Regions from separate parts of the Homo sapiens genome. Here region 2 is linked to region 1. Evidence: promoter capture Hi-C in human tissues and cell types (Jung and others, 2019). All regions are on one chromosome and are shown on one strand. The core of a region is centred on a gene start or on the middle of the fragment in contact, and the rest is flanking DNA. Distances in the headings are between cores, read along the strand shown.

Region 1 (7,254 bases), core at 1,568-4,067:
ATGGCCTGCATTTAGGATCCTCCTGAGGCAGGAGGATCACTTGAGCTCAGGAGTTTGAGACCAGCCTGGGCAACAGCAGGACCCCCTCCCCCCAACTCTTAAAACAACAGAAAATTAGGCCGGGCACGGCGGCTCACGCCTGTAATCCCAGCACTTTGGGAGGCTGAGGTCAGGAGATGGAGATCATCTTGGCTAACACGGTGAAACCCCGTCTCTACTAAAAAAATACAAATAAATTAGCCGGGCGCGGTGGCGGGCGCCTATAGTCCCAGCTACTCGGGAGGCTGAGGCAGGAGAATGGCGTGAACCTGGGAGTTGGAGCTTGAAGTGAGCCGAGATTGCACCACTGCACTCCAGCCTGGGCCACAGAGCAAGACTCCGTCTCAAAAAAAAAAAAAAAAAAAAGACAGTCTGTAACTCAGCCACAGACAGCCGTAGCCAGGATCTCACCCCTGAGAAGGACATCTGCTGCAGCCACATGCTGGCCCCAAAGAAAACTGGCTCTAAATTGGCCTCTAGACAGTTCTAGACTGCATCTCAAAAAAAAAAAGAAAAGAAAATTAGCCAGGCATGGTGGCTGAAAAGGTGGGCTGTTGAGCCCCTACCCACCCTATGGAGCCAAGCTCAGCAGTGTCTCATCCAGGAAGCTCTCACAGACAAGTATGGTGTTCCCACAGGCCCTTGCCCTAGCTCACGCCTCTCATGCCCTGGCAACTAAGAGTGGGGGCGCGGCAGACCCATCCCTGGAGAGACACAGGACTGTTTTTCTCACCAAACTGGCCTGATGACAGACAGGCAGATGGACAAGAACGTGCAGGCCTTGGCTTTTATTGAGATCAGAGCTGTGGGCTCCCCGGCCTCTCAGGGAGGCGGTGGCGGGGGGGCCTGATTCTGCACTCAGCCCGGCCTCCCAGGTACAAGTGGCTGACTGGAGTCTAAGCAGGCTGCAAGGGCACGGCCATGCTTCTATTGCTTCTGCCCCTCCCTCGGAACCTCCTCCTCCTCCCTCTCCCCATCACATTCTCCCGAGGCCCAGGCCTGGGCGCTGGGCCGCTGCCTGGGCCACCCCATGTGGCAGGGCCACTGCCGGGGGCCGAGCCCCTCCTGCTCAGGCTGCCTCCTCGGCCATCCTGCCCCTCCTGTACCCAGTCCTGGCACTCGGGATCCCTATGGCCTCTCCAGGGCCCCAGAGCGGGTTCTCTTGCACAAGGGACACATGGCCTCTTCCCAGGTCCCCCAGGACCTCTTGGGCCTGAGCCTAGAAGGACTAGGCTGGGGGAGGGCACCCTTGTCTGGGTCCATGCTGGAACTGGAAGCTGAGGAAAGAGGAGAGAAAGGAGTCACTTGAGGGACCCAAGGGGAGGCTGGGGGGGAGGCTGGCAGCCCACCCTGGGGTTTCCAGAATCCGATATTCTTGAAAACAGAAGGGAGGAGGGCAATGCTTCCTCCTTAACAGAATCCCCAGGGGAGGGAGGAGGTTGAGGGAACAGAATGGTTCAAGCTGGAAGGACCCTCATCTAACCTGAACCCTCATTTTACAAGTGAGAAAACTGAGGCCCAGCAAGGGAGACAGATTCCAAGGCCCCTCACCGAGTGTGGAGCTGGGGCAGTCACCCAGCCCTCCCTCCCAGATCCTCCCTTTTTCTCGCACCGCTTTGTCCCTGGTGGATTCTCCAGACCCCGCTTAGCTGTGCGTGATGCAGAGATGGGGACAGATTCATCAAGATCTTGGCCTTCTGGGGCATGGTGCCACTGTGGAGGCTTGGGAGTGGAGAAGGGCCCGCCTGAGGCCCCAGCCCAACCATCCCCTAGGGTCTTCCCCCGTGCCCAGTCCTGCCTTGACAGAGCTCACCACTGCTTCCCAGGCTGTCCCTGGGCAATCGGGCTTCCAGAAGGGCTGAACAGAGGCTGTTACGTGGGCCCAGAGTCCCCTGTGGCAGGTCCAGGGCCCAGGCTGTGCCCTCAGGCTGTGGCAGGCAGCCCCCAGCCATAAGCCGGCCCAGCCAGTGGCTCTCACACTGGCCAGTGGGTGGCGGGTGGCTCTCCAGGTAGAGGCCCAGGCCCCGGAGGTGGCGCAGCCGGAAGTTCTTGGGCTTGCTTCCCTGGGCACTGGGGCACTGCGGCTGCGGGGACCCCAGGCCCCCCTCGTAGATGTTGGGGGGTGCGTCAGGGTGGCCGGGGCGTCCTTGGGCCTGGCTCACTGCATCTGCAGAGGAGACAGCGGGAGGGTGGTGGCCAGCCCCCCACAGCAGCCATGAGGGGAGGGTGCAGTCACATACCTCTGAGACCAGCTCACATGATGGGCTACACCCCCAGCCAACCTGGCCTCAGTTTACCTGTGTGTCAAATAGTCTCAGTCCACTGCCTCCCCTGCCCATGCCCAAGACACGACTCCTCTTCCCACTCCCAACCAACAGGGAGGCCTGGGAAGCCTCGGGCCTTGGTACTAAGAGTGCTTTCAGGACCTCAAGTCCTTTCTACTACCCTGTTCTGCCCGCTACCCTAGGAAGAGTATTCTGGTCCCCACAGAGAAATTGCACAGTGGGTTTGAGAGAAAGTGGCCAGCCCAGGGGCTCATGGCCTGGCCCAGTGGCCATTCCCCTCTCCCAAGCATACATGTCCCTGAGGCCACCCCTCGGCTTTGGGCCCAGGTGGGGACAGAAGCCTATCTCTCTTCCTGCCACTCCTCCCCACAGCCCGGCACCTTCTCTTATGTGCAGCTCAGAAAATGCACAGACCAAGGCTTCCATGGAGGGCCAGTGTGGTGGGGAGGAGCAACCAGGACTTGGGTGCAGCAGGGCCCTGCTCTCCCCTGCCTAGGGGGTACATTGGCAGGTCTCCCCTGGCAACTGGTTCTTATGACATCACGGGGAAGACTCCCAGCCTTCCTGGACCCCTAGTTTGGGAGAGGACAGTGCCCAAGGCAAGGGCAGGGTGAAAGAAAGGCATGGGAAGGGGCCAGAACCCTGGGGGAAGTCCCTGGTCCCTCTGGCTGGGGTCAGGCCACATAAAACAGACAGCTCTGGCAAACTGGAGAGTCCTTCTCTCAGGTGATCTCTTGGGGCCAGCTTCCTCATCTGGGGTGGGAAATGAGGGTTCAGGAGTACAGACCTAGGAAGACCTAGGTCGGTACTTTGAAAATGCTGAAAAGGGGCTGGGGGCGGTGGCTCATGCCTGTAATCCCAGCACTGTGGGAGGCCGAGGCAGGCTGATCAGTTGAGGTCTGTGGGAGGCCGGGGTGGGCGGATCATGAGGTCAGGAGATCGAGACCATCCTGGCTAACACGGTGAAACCCCGTCTCTACTAAAAATACAAAAAAATTAGCCGGGCGTCGTGGCGGGAGCCTGTAGTCCCAGTTACTCAGGAGGCTGAGGCAGGAGAATGGCGTGAACCCGGGAGGCGAAGCTTGCAGTGAGCCCAGATCGCGCCACTGCACTCCAGCCTGGGCTGCAGAGCGAGACTCCGTCTCAAAAAAAAAAAAAAGTTAAACATTCATCTTTCCGGACCTGGCCAAGCAGGAAGCGCCATCATGGGAGCTGACGTCCGCCACAAGAAGGACCTAAAGGTTCGGCGCAAAGAGCCCAAGAGCCAGGATATCTAACTGAGGCTGTTTGTTGGTCAAGCTGTACAGGTTACCGTCCAGACGAACTAACTCCACATTCAACCAGGTTGTGCTGAAGAGGTTGTTTATGAGTCGCACCAACCGGCCACCTCTGTCCGTTTCCCGGATGATCCGGAAGATGAAGCTTCCTGGCTGGGAAAACAAAACGGCCGTGGTTGTGGGGACGCTTAACGGATGACGCGAGGGTTCAGGAGGTGCCCAAACTTAAGGTGTGTGCGCTGCCCGTGACCAGCCGGCCCACAGCGGCATCCTCAGGGTGGGGGCCAAGATCCTGACTTTCGATCAGCTGGCCCTGGACTCCCTCAAGGACGGCGGCCCCGTCCTACTCTCCGGTCTTCGCAAGGGCCGACAGGTGTACCGGCATTTCGGCAAGGCCCTGGGAACCCCACACAGCCACACCAAACGCTATTTCCGCTCCAGGGACCAGAAGTTCGAGCGCGCCAGAGGCCTACGGGCCAGCCGAGGCTACAAAAACGAACCCTCTTATTAAAAAGATTTTGGATGCTGACAAAAAAACAAAAAGTTAAAACATTCAATTTTCTCTTGTCACAGACGACCTGATTTTTCTTTTTTTCTTTTCTTTTTTTTTTTTTTTAAGATGGAGTCTCACTTTGGCGCCCAGGCTGGAGTGCAGTGGCGCGATCTCGGTTCACTGCAACCTCCGCCTCCCGAGTTCAAGAGCTTCTCCTGCCTCGGCCTCCCCAGCAGGTGGGATTACAGGCACCCACCACCACGCCCAACGGATCTTTGTATTTTTAGTAGAGACAGGCTTTCGCCATGTTGGCCAGGCTGGTCTCAAACTCCTGACGTCAGGTGATCCGCCCACCTCGGCCTCCCAAAGTGCTGGGATTACAGGCATGACCCACCGCGCCCAGCAACCTGATCTTGTATGTAGGAAATATTAAATAATTCATACTTGAAAAAAAAAAATCCTGAACCTAGTAGAGCTTTTTCAGAGCTAATGAAGTTCAGAAAAATCTCAAGTCATAAAATCACCACACAAAAATTAATTGTATTTCTAGATACTAGCAAAGAATAAAAAGAATAAAATAGGAATACATTTAACCAAGGAGGTATAAGACAACTCTGAATACTATAAAACATTGCTGAGAGAATCTAAAGACTTAAATAAATTGGAAAGCATCACATGTTCATGGACTGAAGACTTAATATTGTTAAGATAGCAACACTCCCCAAAGTGCTCAGTACAATTCTTATCAAAATCAAAATGGCCTTCATGTAGTGTATTAGGCTTCTCCAGAGAAATATAGTCAGCAGAATGTATATAGATATTTACAGAGAAAATATTTATTAGAGGATAAATAAATCTCCTTATATAATTTTTTCTGAGATAGGGCCTTGCTCCATTGCCCAGGCTGAAGTACAGTGACATGATCACGGCTCACTGCAACCTCAACTTACCAGGCTCAGGCAATCCTCCCACCTTAGCCTCCCAAGTAGCTGGGACTACAGGTGTGCACCACCAGGCCTGGCTAATTTTTTAATTTATTTTCATTTTTTAATTTTTAATTTTTTAAATTTTTGCTGATGGAGATCTCACCATGTTGCCCAGAGCTAGTCTTGAACTCCTGGGCTCAAGTGATCCTCCTGCCTCCACCTCCCAAAGTGCTGGGGTGATAGGTGTGAGCCGCCGTGCCCAGCCAAGAGAAGATTTATTAGGGATATTGGCTTATGTGATTATCCGGGCTGAGAAGTCGCACAATATGCTGCCTGCAAGCTGGAGAACCAGGAAAACTGGTGCTGTAATTAAGTCTGGGTTCAAAAGCATGAGAATCTGGGTAGGGGTGGGGGTGAGGGCTGGTGTAAGTCCTGGTGTCCAGAAGTCCAAGAACCAGGAGCTCCAATGTCCAAGGGCACGGGAAGAAGGATGTCCCAGCCCATGAAGAGAGTGTGAATTCACCCCTCCTCTGCATTTTTGTCATAATTGGGCACCCAGCAGATTGGATGATGCCCACCACACTGGTGAGGGCAATCTTCTTTTTTTTTACTCAGTCTAGCAATTCAAATGCTAATCTCTTCTGGAAACGCTTACACAAGCACACTGAAAAATAATGTTTTACCAGCTATCAGGCATCCCAGTCAAGTTGACACACAAAATTAAGCATCACAAGCAGAAATGGAAAAGCTAATCCTAAAATTCATGTGAAATTACAAGGGAGCCCAAATAACCACAACAATCTTGGAAAAGCAAATCTTCAGAAATCAGAAACACGGCTGGGCATGGTGGCTCACACCTGTAATCCCAGCACTTTGGGACACTCAGGTGGTCAGATCACCTGAGGTCAAGAGTTTGTGACCAGCCTGGCCAACATAGGCGGGCGGATCATGAGGTCGGGAGATCCAGACCATCCTGGCAAACACGGTGAAAGCCCGTCTCTACTAAAAATACAAAAAAATTAGCCGGGTGTGGTGGTGGGCGCCTGTAGTCCCAGCTACTTGGGAGGCCGAGGCAGGAGAATGGCGTAAACCCAGGAGGCAGAGCTTGCAGTGAGCCGAGATCGCACCACTGGCACTCCAGACTGGGTAACAGAGCGAGACTCCATCTCAAAAAACAAACAAACAAACAAACAAACAACAACAACAAAAAAAAGTGAAAAGACAACCTATGAAATGGAAGAAAATATTGGCAAATCATATATCTGATAAGGGTCTCATAGGCAGAATATATAAAGAACACTTACAATTCAAAAACAAAAGGATGTTCAACCCAATTTTGAAATGGGCAAAGAAAATGAATAGACATTTTTCCAATGGAAATATACAAATGGTCATCAAACACGTAAAAAGATGTTCAACATCTTTAATCATCAGGGAAATGCAGGCCGCGTGCGGTGACTCACGCCAACATGGCGAAACTCCGTCTCTACCCAAAATACAAAAATTAGCTGGGCGCGGTGGCGCGCGTCTGTAATCCCAGCTCCTCCGGAGGCTGAGGCAGGAAAATCGCTTGAACCCTGGAGGCGGAGGTTTCAGTGAGCCGAGATTGTGCCACTGCACTCCAGCCTGGGCAACAAGAGCAAGAGTCCATCTCAAAAAAAAAAGTTCAAGTTGATCAACATCCTTTCAAGCCCTTGGCATTGTCAAGAGTTTTTTGTTGTTTTAGCCATTTTATCTAGATTTAATTTTTAGGTTTTTAACGTGTTACCTGATATTTTAGCCAGTTTAATAACTTCATAGTGATATCTCATTGTGGTTTTAATATGCACTTCTCTAATAATAGCCTTGATCATCTCTTCATTTGCATATTAGCCATCCATATATCTTCTTTTGTGAAGTAGCTTTTAAAATGTTTTCTCCATTCTCTAATTAGACTGTTTCTCATTATTGAGTGTTGAGAGTTCTTGATACATTCTGGATACACGTCTCTTTATCAGATATGTGTTTTGTGCATATTTTCTTCTAGACTGTGGCTTATCTTTTGTTTTTCTTAATAACACGTGAAGCAACATTTATGGGAGGCCATTGTTTTGGAGCGAGCTCCTGCACAAGGTACCAACGGACCAGACCAAACCAGAATGGAATCGCTAGTGCAAGGTGCCACGTAATCAATGCGAACTTAGAGACAGGCCAGTCTGCCAAAACACAGAAGATTCACTGCAACCAACAAAAGG
Region 2 (7,254 bases), core at 1,859-4,358, 170 kb before region 1:
AAAGCTTCAGTCAAAATACAAATTTACATACACACCAAAGAACTCATACAGGAGAAAAGCCCTTCACATGTCATGAATGTGGAAAAAAATTCAGTCAGAACTCCCACCTTATTAAACACCGGAGAACCCACACAGGTGAGCAGCCATATACTTGTAGCATATGCAGGAGAAACTTCAGCAGGCGGTCAAGCCTTCTTAGACACCAGAAACTCCACCTGTGAAGAGAAGCTTGTCCAGTGTCCTCATTCTGAAGACATTCACCAAATGGAGCTTGGCACTAAAATTTATGTAAAAGAAAAATCACAAACCTTGAAAAATTTTACATCAGAAAATGGGATAAACATACATTTCACAGAAAATAATCAAGACTTGCTCTGCAGCCACTCAGTAGTCTTCTGTGGTCACAGAAGTAAACATTGTTGGCTTTGTATTGATCTCTCCAGTCATTTTTGAACACATCCAATAGAAACATTGGCAGCATGGTCTTCCAAAACAAAAAGCAGTAACATGCATGTTTAATTGCATACCATTCTCTTCACAGTAGCAGGCTTACCAATTTCCATAGTCTCATGAGGCCGAAATGAATTACAATGTAAAGTGTTCCAGGAACCAAATTGGATTTTCTTTCTTTTGTCATTGGACACGGTTTGCAAAGTTGGACATCACTTGAGTTCCTTCTTAAACTTTTCGGCAACTTCTCTTGGATCCTGTTATCACAGTTTTTTACTGTGATGAAATCTTGTTAACCACCACTAGGGAATCTCCAGATGAACTATTAATGCACTGTCTTATGCCTCTCATTGGTGATGTTTGGAAAATAGAAGACATCTCTAATGGAATCATGGGGGAAACGGGTTGGAATTTGTAGCCATGGAATATATATTAGATGTAAAGAATTTTCTGCAATAAAAGAAACTAGACTTGTTAATCCCTGCCTTGCAATGTCAGTAGGATAAAGCAGCTATAAAAATTAGTACTTGCCCAAGGCCTGAAAGAGAATTAGTGGGAATTAAGATCAACTTCTCAGTTTTGTTTGTTTACTTTTTAATTGGCTTTTCTTTGTTGTTAAGAATGAGAGACTTAATTTCCATGGGAGTTGGAGTGTGTGTGCTGCAGGCAGGATCCTGTGGCTCATTTGGCATGGAGACCTGGACATGTAGTCAGCAGGAGACGGTTCCCTAAATAAAAGATTTGGGCACTGGTGCTAAGTGTTGGGCGAGGATGAGCAAATCTACATCCATGTTGTTCTGTCCTGTCCTGTAAGCTCTACCTGTCTTTGTTCTTTCCAGCACAGCATTTAACAGCAGCCTCAGGTGATAAATTTGATGGATTGCCAAAAGTCTGTATAGCCTATGGATTTTCTTACAACTTGCTTGTTTAGCTACAGCAGTGACTCAGGTGCATTCCTTTTAGAGCTCTTAGGTATATCAGGAAAGGGGTTAAATAACTGACCTCTTCCAAACCTCTTATTTTATTTTTTTTGAGACAGAGTTTCGCTCTTGTCACTCAGGCTGGAGTGCAATGGTGTGATCTCAGCTCATTGCATCCTCCACCTCCCAGATTCAAGCAATTCTTCTGCCTCAGCCTCCAGAGTAGCTGGGATTACAGGCACCCACCACCACGCCTGGCTAATTTTTTGTATTTTTAGTAGAGACGGGGTTTCACCATGTTGAGCAGGCTGGTCTCGAACTCCTGACCTCAAGTGATCCACCCGCCTCGGCCTCCCAAAGTGCTGGGATTACATGCATGAGCCACTGTGCCCAGCCTATACTAATTGTTTCTTAAGTACAGCCAACTCTGGAGCTCTGGTCTACATAGCTCTTACCCAGCACCACCTTAACTTAAGACCTCCAGGATTCTGTTTCTTCTCCCAGATCATGTGTGGCTTTCTTTCTGGCCCTACATTCATTCATTCTGTTCAATTTAATGAAGGCCTATGATGTGTCAGGCACTGTCCTATACTCTGAGGACACAGGAGTGGCCAAGAGACAAAATTGCATCCCCTCATGGAACTTGTATTCCAGTGAACAGTAAGAAGAATGGTTTTGCTTTCCTGCTCCTTGCTCTAAGACGGGTATGAGATAGTTTTGGTCAATGAGTTGTGAGCATTGTGAGCCTCTGGCTGAAGCTTTTCATTTTTTTTTTTTTATTTTTTTTTTTATTTTTTTGCTGGTACAAGGCCAGTGCTCTCCTTTCCTGCCTTAATCATGGAACCACATACAGAGAGAGCAGCCATGAAATCAAAGCAGTCCAGAACACTGAGCCACTGCATGGAGGGCGGCTATTCCCAAGAGTCTCCAGACCTATAGTGAACTTTGTGAGAACAAGAAATAAACATTTGTTCTGTTAAATCACTGAGACATTGGTGCTATGTGTTTCTGTAGCATAACCTGCCCTATCTTTTTTTTTTTTCTTGAGACGGAGTCTCGCTCTGTTGCCCAGGCTGGAGTGCAGTGGCGCAATGTCAGCTCACTGCAAGCTCCGCCTCCTGGGTTCATGCCATTCTCCTGCCTCAGCCTCCCAAGTTGCTGGGACTACAGGTACCCGCCACCACGCCTGGCTAATTTTTGTATTTTTAGTAGAGATGGGGTTTCACCTTGTTAGCCAGGATGGTCTTGGTCTCCTGACCTCGTGATCCACCCGCCTCGGCCTCCCAAAGTGCCGGGATTACAGGCGTGAGCCACCGCACCTGGCCAACCTGGCCTATCTTAATAGAGCTTGGAAAAGGGCAGCTGGGGGAGTGACTGTTTTGCTGGAGCTCTGGACCTTTCCATTTTCATTCTGCCTAGCCTTTGGCCCTCAAAAGAGACCTGGCTTCCCGTGGATACTAAACTGAGCTGATGCAACACTAATGGGACCACTTAAGACCTCCCAAGACTGTAGATGATAGGGAAGAAAGACATTGCTGTCTTGGACAAATCTTATGGGAGGTCAGTTCAAGGGGACAAGGCAACCCTCCTTCCCTATCTGGCCTTATTCCACTTCCCTTATTCTTTGTCTCCCTGCGCGTTGCCTCATGCACAAAACAGGCATTGCTATTGATGAATGGGCTATGGTGGGGGTTAGGGGGTAGGGATTGCCTTCCTCATATGCATGCAGGAGATTTCAAAGAATGGTTTGTTAACTACCTCTGTTGTATCTTCAGTGAGTTGTGCCTCAGAAAACAGATGAGATATAGGGCAAAAGCAAATTTGTCCAGATCAGTGTAGACAGTAAGGTGGCTATCTTCCTGGACTAAGGGATGACGGACAACTGGGGAGAAACTTGGGCAGGGAGGCAGGAGCAAGACAGTTCCACCTGTGGAGTGAGAATCCTCCAGGGGGAAAGTCGTAGCTTAGCCAGTACCCAGCTGCTGCACATAACATGATGTCTCATAACAACCTTGGAATTTGTGGGGTGGGGAGTGGAAGAAGGGATTTCTGTAGCTTGAGATGAGATTGGATTACTAAAATGATATCAGATGATATGAGAACAAATTACTTAAACCATGATATTAAAATCTATTGAGGCTTGCTTTAAAAATGAAATGAGAGACACATAATCCTAGGTTTAGCCTTAAACATTAGTACTAAATGCACTAATTAGTACTAAATGCACAAATATGTCCTCCATAAACCGGCAGATGATTTCCAGGAAACAAGAAGGATGCTTTATTTTAGCATGTTCAGATAGCAGCCTTACCGTGGCTTCACGGTTATTTCAGAGAACTGTATCATTGACCCCGTCTAGTCTCCTGACCTGTCCCCTGCACTAGTCTAAGTTCAGTGCTGGGACCATCCCAGACCTAGAGTTCTCCCTGCCGTTAAGCAGACTGGACCTTGAGCTCACCTTGAGAACCTCAGATATATTTTATTTTTGAGACAAGGGTCTCTGTTGCCCAGGCTGGGGCTCACCACAGCCTCGATCTCCCAGTCTCAAGCAATCCTCCCACCTCAGCCTTCTGAGTATCTGGGACTCCAGGCACGTGCCACCATGCCTGGGTTATTATTTTTTTACTTTTAGTAGAGATGAGGTCTTGCTATGTTGCCCAGGCTGATCTTGAACTCCTAAGCTCAAGTGATCCTCCTGCATTGGCCTCCCAAAGTACTGAGATTACAGGCATGAGCCACCATGCCCAACCTCAGATATCTTTTAACTGGAGGGGAAGAACAGGAGGGGCTTAGAATCAAAGTAAATCTCAAAACTAAAACTCCTAGGGTTTCTGTTAACTTTTGGAACTACTGAGAACAGTGTTTAATTTCCCAGGTAAGTTTGAGGAAGAACGCCCAGCAGCCTCTTTTATCCAAATGGACAATTGGTAACAAAAGATGGGAGTTCATAAAGGATTTTCCAAATATTTGTTGAGTCATGCCACTGAAGCATTTACTCCAGCATTTCCTGGTCACTCCTCCCTGTCATGTGTGATGAAGGCTGCCCTGTTACTCTTCTCTTGGAGGTTTTCTAGTGCATAAATACTTGCTGAAGCTCTCCCCACATTCTCTGTGGACTGAATTCTCTCCTATGTAGACTCTCTGAAGTCCCCTCAAGTGGGAAACAAAGTTTTGCCCATACTTCACGTTTCTACTGTTTGTCCCAGTAGAAATCCACCCAAACAAAAAGCATACTTTTGTTTCTGAATCTTTTCTACACCTGTCACTTTTTCTTGTGTGGGTTCACTGGGGACCGAGATGAGGGCACTGTTTGAAACATCAACCAAATTTGCTACATGCCTAGGTTTCCTTCATGTATTAATCCTCCACTGGGCAATGGTAGTTGGGCTGTACTGAAATGCCTTCTTCAGTCGAGCGTCTGTAAGGCTTTTCTCCTGTACGATTCACCCAAATCTGATAATGCGTGTACTTTGCCTAAAGCAGTTCGCCTAGTCTGAATCCCTCCTGTGAAAGGAATTAAGCAAGCTACCTTTTGCATTGCATTTCAGATTTAAGAAAACTATCTGAATCACTTTTCATTTCTGCCACAGTTCAGATAATGAATCTTGAGTTGCACCAATCTTAGCGCTGACATTAAAAATCAAGCTTTACAGTGTTTGGATATGATGCACCTTTTAGGAGAAACTAAGAAAGCTTACTGTTGAAATTTTTTTTTTTGACAAGTTAACATTTATTTTTGGGCCTTTCTTCCTATGTGTATTTCAAGTCTTTTTCAAAACAAGGACCCAGGAATCTCCAGATTCAATTATGTCCCTGGGCTTGGTCGACTGCTCCCGGAGTCTTAGGAAGCCTTGTACAAATGCTAGAGTTACTCATTCACCAACATTAAACCCTAGGATAGAAGATTCAACAAAGCAGGACTACTTCCGCCGACAAGGAGGCAGCCAATGTAGAAAATGCTGGAATTTTTCCTTGGAACTGGACTGTGATGAGAGGTACTTGCCATGAACCTAAGCTACTGTCTTTTTTTTTAACCCTTCCTTTCCAGTTTTTGAAGATAAAGCAGGAAATAGTCTTTGAAGATACTTGATAAAAAAAATCTCAAAAAAACAAAAACACATGCTTCCACTTCATTGATAAAAATTTACTGCAGTTTGGCACCTGGGTCTAGTTCAGCTGGCAGATGAGCTGATTGATGCATTCACCCCAATAGCCAGATGTGCCCATCTCCTTGAGGAAGCCCACTGTATTTTTGGTAGCATGATGGACCACTGAGAGGTGGAAAGGGCAAAAGAACCATGAGATCTCCTGGAAATGCTTCACTGGGAGGCAATTTCATGAATGAGGTCTTCCAAGCAAATGACACCAAACTTCCCCAGGTGCTCCTCAATCACTGTGTTGTCTGTCAGAGGGATGGTGTTCTTATTGACCTTGGCTTGTCCATGTTTCAGAATGAATTCCCGGACAGACTTCAGATTTGGAAATCCCCAGATCACATAAGGTTCCACTATACGCAGCATTTTTAGGTTCTGGGGGGTGACTTTTACAAAGACACCACTAAAAATTTTCTTAAGATGAAGTCTTGCAATGGCTGTCTGCACCAGTAGACTCACGCCAACAATCCTTTTGCTGCATACAACAAAGGCCAAGGAATGTTTATCTGGCAATTCCAAGGCACGAGGTTTCATTTCTAGTCATCTGAGACACACCTTGTCACATTTCTGCCACCAGGAATTATGTAGGAATGATTCCAGTCCCTTAAACCTGAGCCCTTTTCCTTTCCGCTGCTCCTTCTTTGCCAAAAGTGCCTGCTTTGTCTGAGTGGCTTTGAGGACTTGATAAGCCTTCCTCTTTTTCAGGAGATTTTCTGGAACCAAAGGGATTTTTCTTTGCTTTTGCTCTGCCATCTTTCTAGTGTTGTAGCTGCTGATCCTTACTGTTGAATTTTTAAAACCAATAGGTATACTTCCAACATAATTTTCACACTAAGCATTTGCCCATGATTTGTACAATCAACTGAATGATTTCAAAGCATTTGAAACAATCAAAAAGTAAAAGATCTTTACTGTTCACAAAGACAAAATTAAATATTTGTAGCATTAGAAAAATTCCTAAAATATTTAGTAGCATAGGGAACAACAGCTTGTTACACAGAAGAGTTAGGAAAAAAAATTTTTTATTTTATTTTTTGGAGACAGAGCCTCACTCTATCCCCCAGGCTGGAGTGCAGTTGCCCGGTCTCGGCTCACTGCAACCTCCTCCCCAGTTCAAGCAATTCTCGGGCCTCATGCTTCCCAAGTAGCTGGCACCACAGGTGTGCACCACCACACCTGGCTAATTTTTTGTGTTTTAATAGAGATAGGGTTTCAACGTGTTTCCCAGGCTGGTCTCGAACTCCTGAGCTCAGGCAATTCACCTGCATAGCAGAGTTAATAGATGGGCAAAGGCCATTGAGTTGAAGAAAGCACATTATGATGCATCAGCCTCATGTTCTGGGACCAAATCAAAGTACTCACTCTACTGAATTGACCAAGCAACCATGAGAAAAATATCTAACTAAACTGCTCAGTGTTGTAATGGATTTCTCTCTACGTATGTTTGTTTTATAAATATGTTAGAGATGGGAGTCTTGATATGTTGCCCAGGCTGGCCTCGAACTCCTGGACTCAAGTGATCCTCCTGCCTAAACCTCCCCAAATCTGGGACTGCAGGTGCATGCCATCACACCTAGCTCCTACACACACACACACGTATATATATGTACATACATACATATACATACTTACATATACATATATATGCTTACCTCAAATATATTGCAGGTTTGGTTCCAGGCCCATGCAATAACATGAATATCAGAATGAAGTGAGTCACACAAATTTTT

What was found. The method cuts DNA at HindIII sites, captures the fragments that hold promoters and counts their contacts. A contact is called where the count stands out against the background at its distance.
Region 2: a contact is called between a fragment that was not itself captured here and the fragment with the promoter of C16orf90 in region 1, in 1 of the 25 tissues and cell types used here (spleen).

The regions. Positions count from the first base shown.
Region 1 is chr16:3,492,672-3,499,925 of GRCh38, forward strand. It overlaps C16orf90 (chromosome 16 open reading frame 90), which reads right to left and starts at 2,818. Exons shown (of 3, transcript NM_001080524.2): 1 at 2,705-2,818; 2 at 1,853-2,206; 3 at 813-1,316. The coding sequence starts at 2,750. The coding sequence ends at 1,168. It also overlaps a transcript of CLUAP1 not described here and the pseudogene RPL18P12. RefSeq lists a silencer at 377-586. The HindIII fragment of the contact is 9,668 bases long and covers 1-3,575 here.
Region 2 is chr16:3,317,649-3,324,902 of GRCh38, forward strand. It overlaps ZNF75A (zinc finger protein 75A), which reads left to right. Exons shown (of 7, transcript NM_001302109.2): 7 at 1-1,203. The coding sequence ends at 221. It also overlaps a transcript of OR2C1 not described here and the pseudogene RPL7L1P19. Among named protein-coding and RNA genes, the nearest start is that of ZNF75A, 16 kb to the left of the region's middle. The HindIII fragment of the contact is 3,861 bases long and covers 1,179-5,039 here.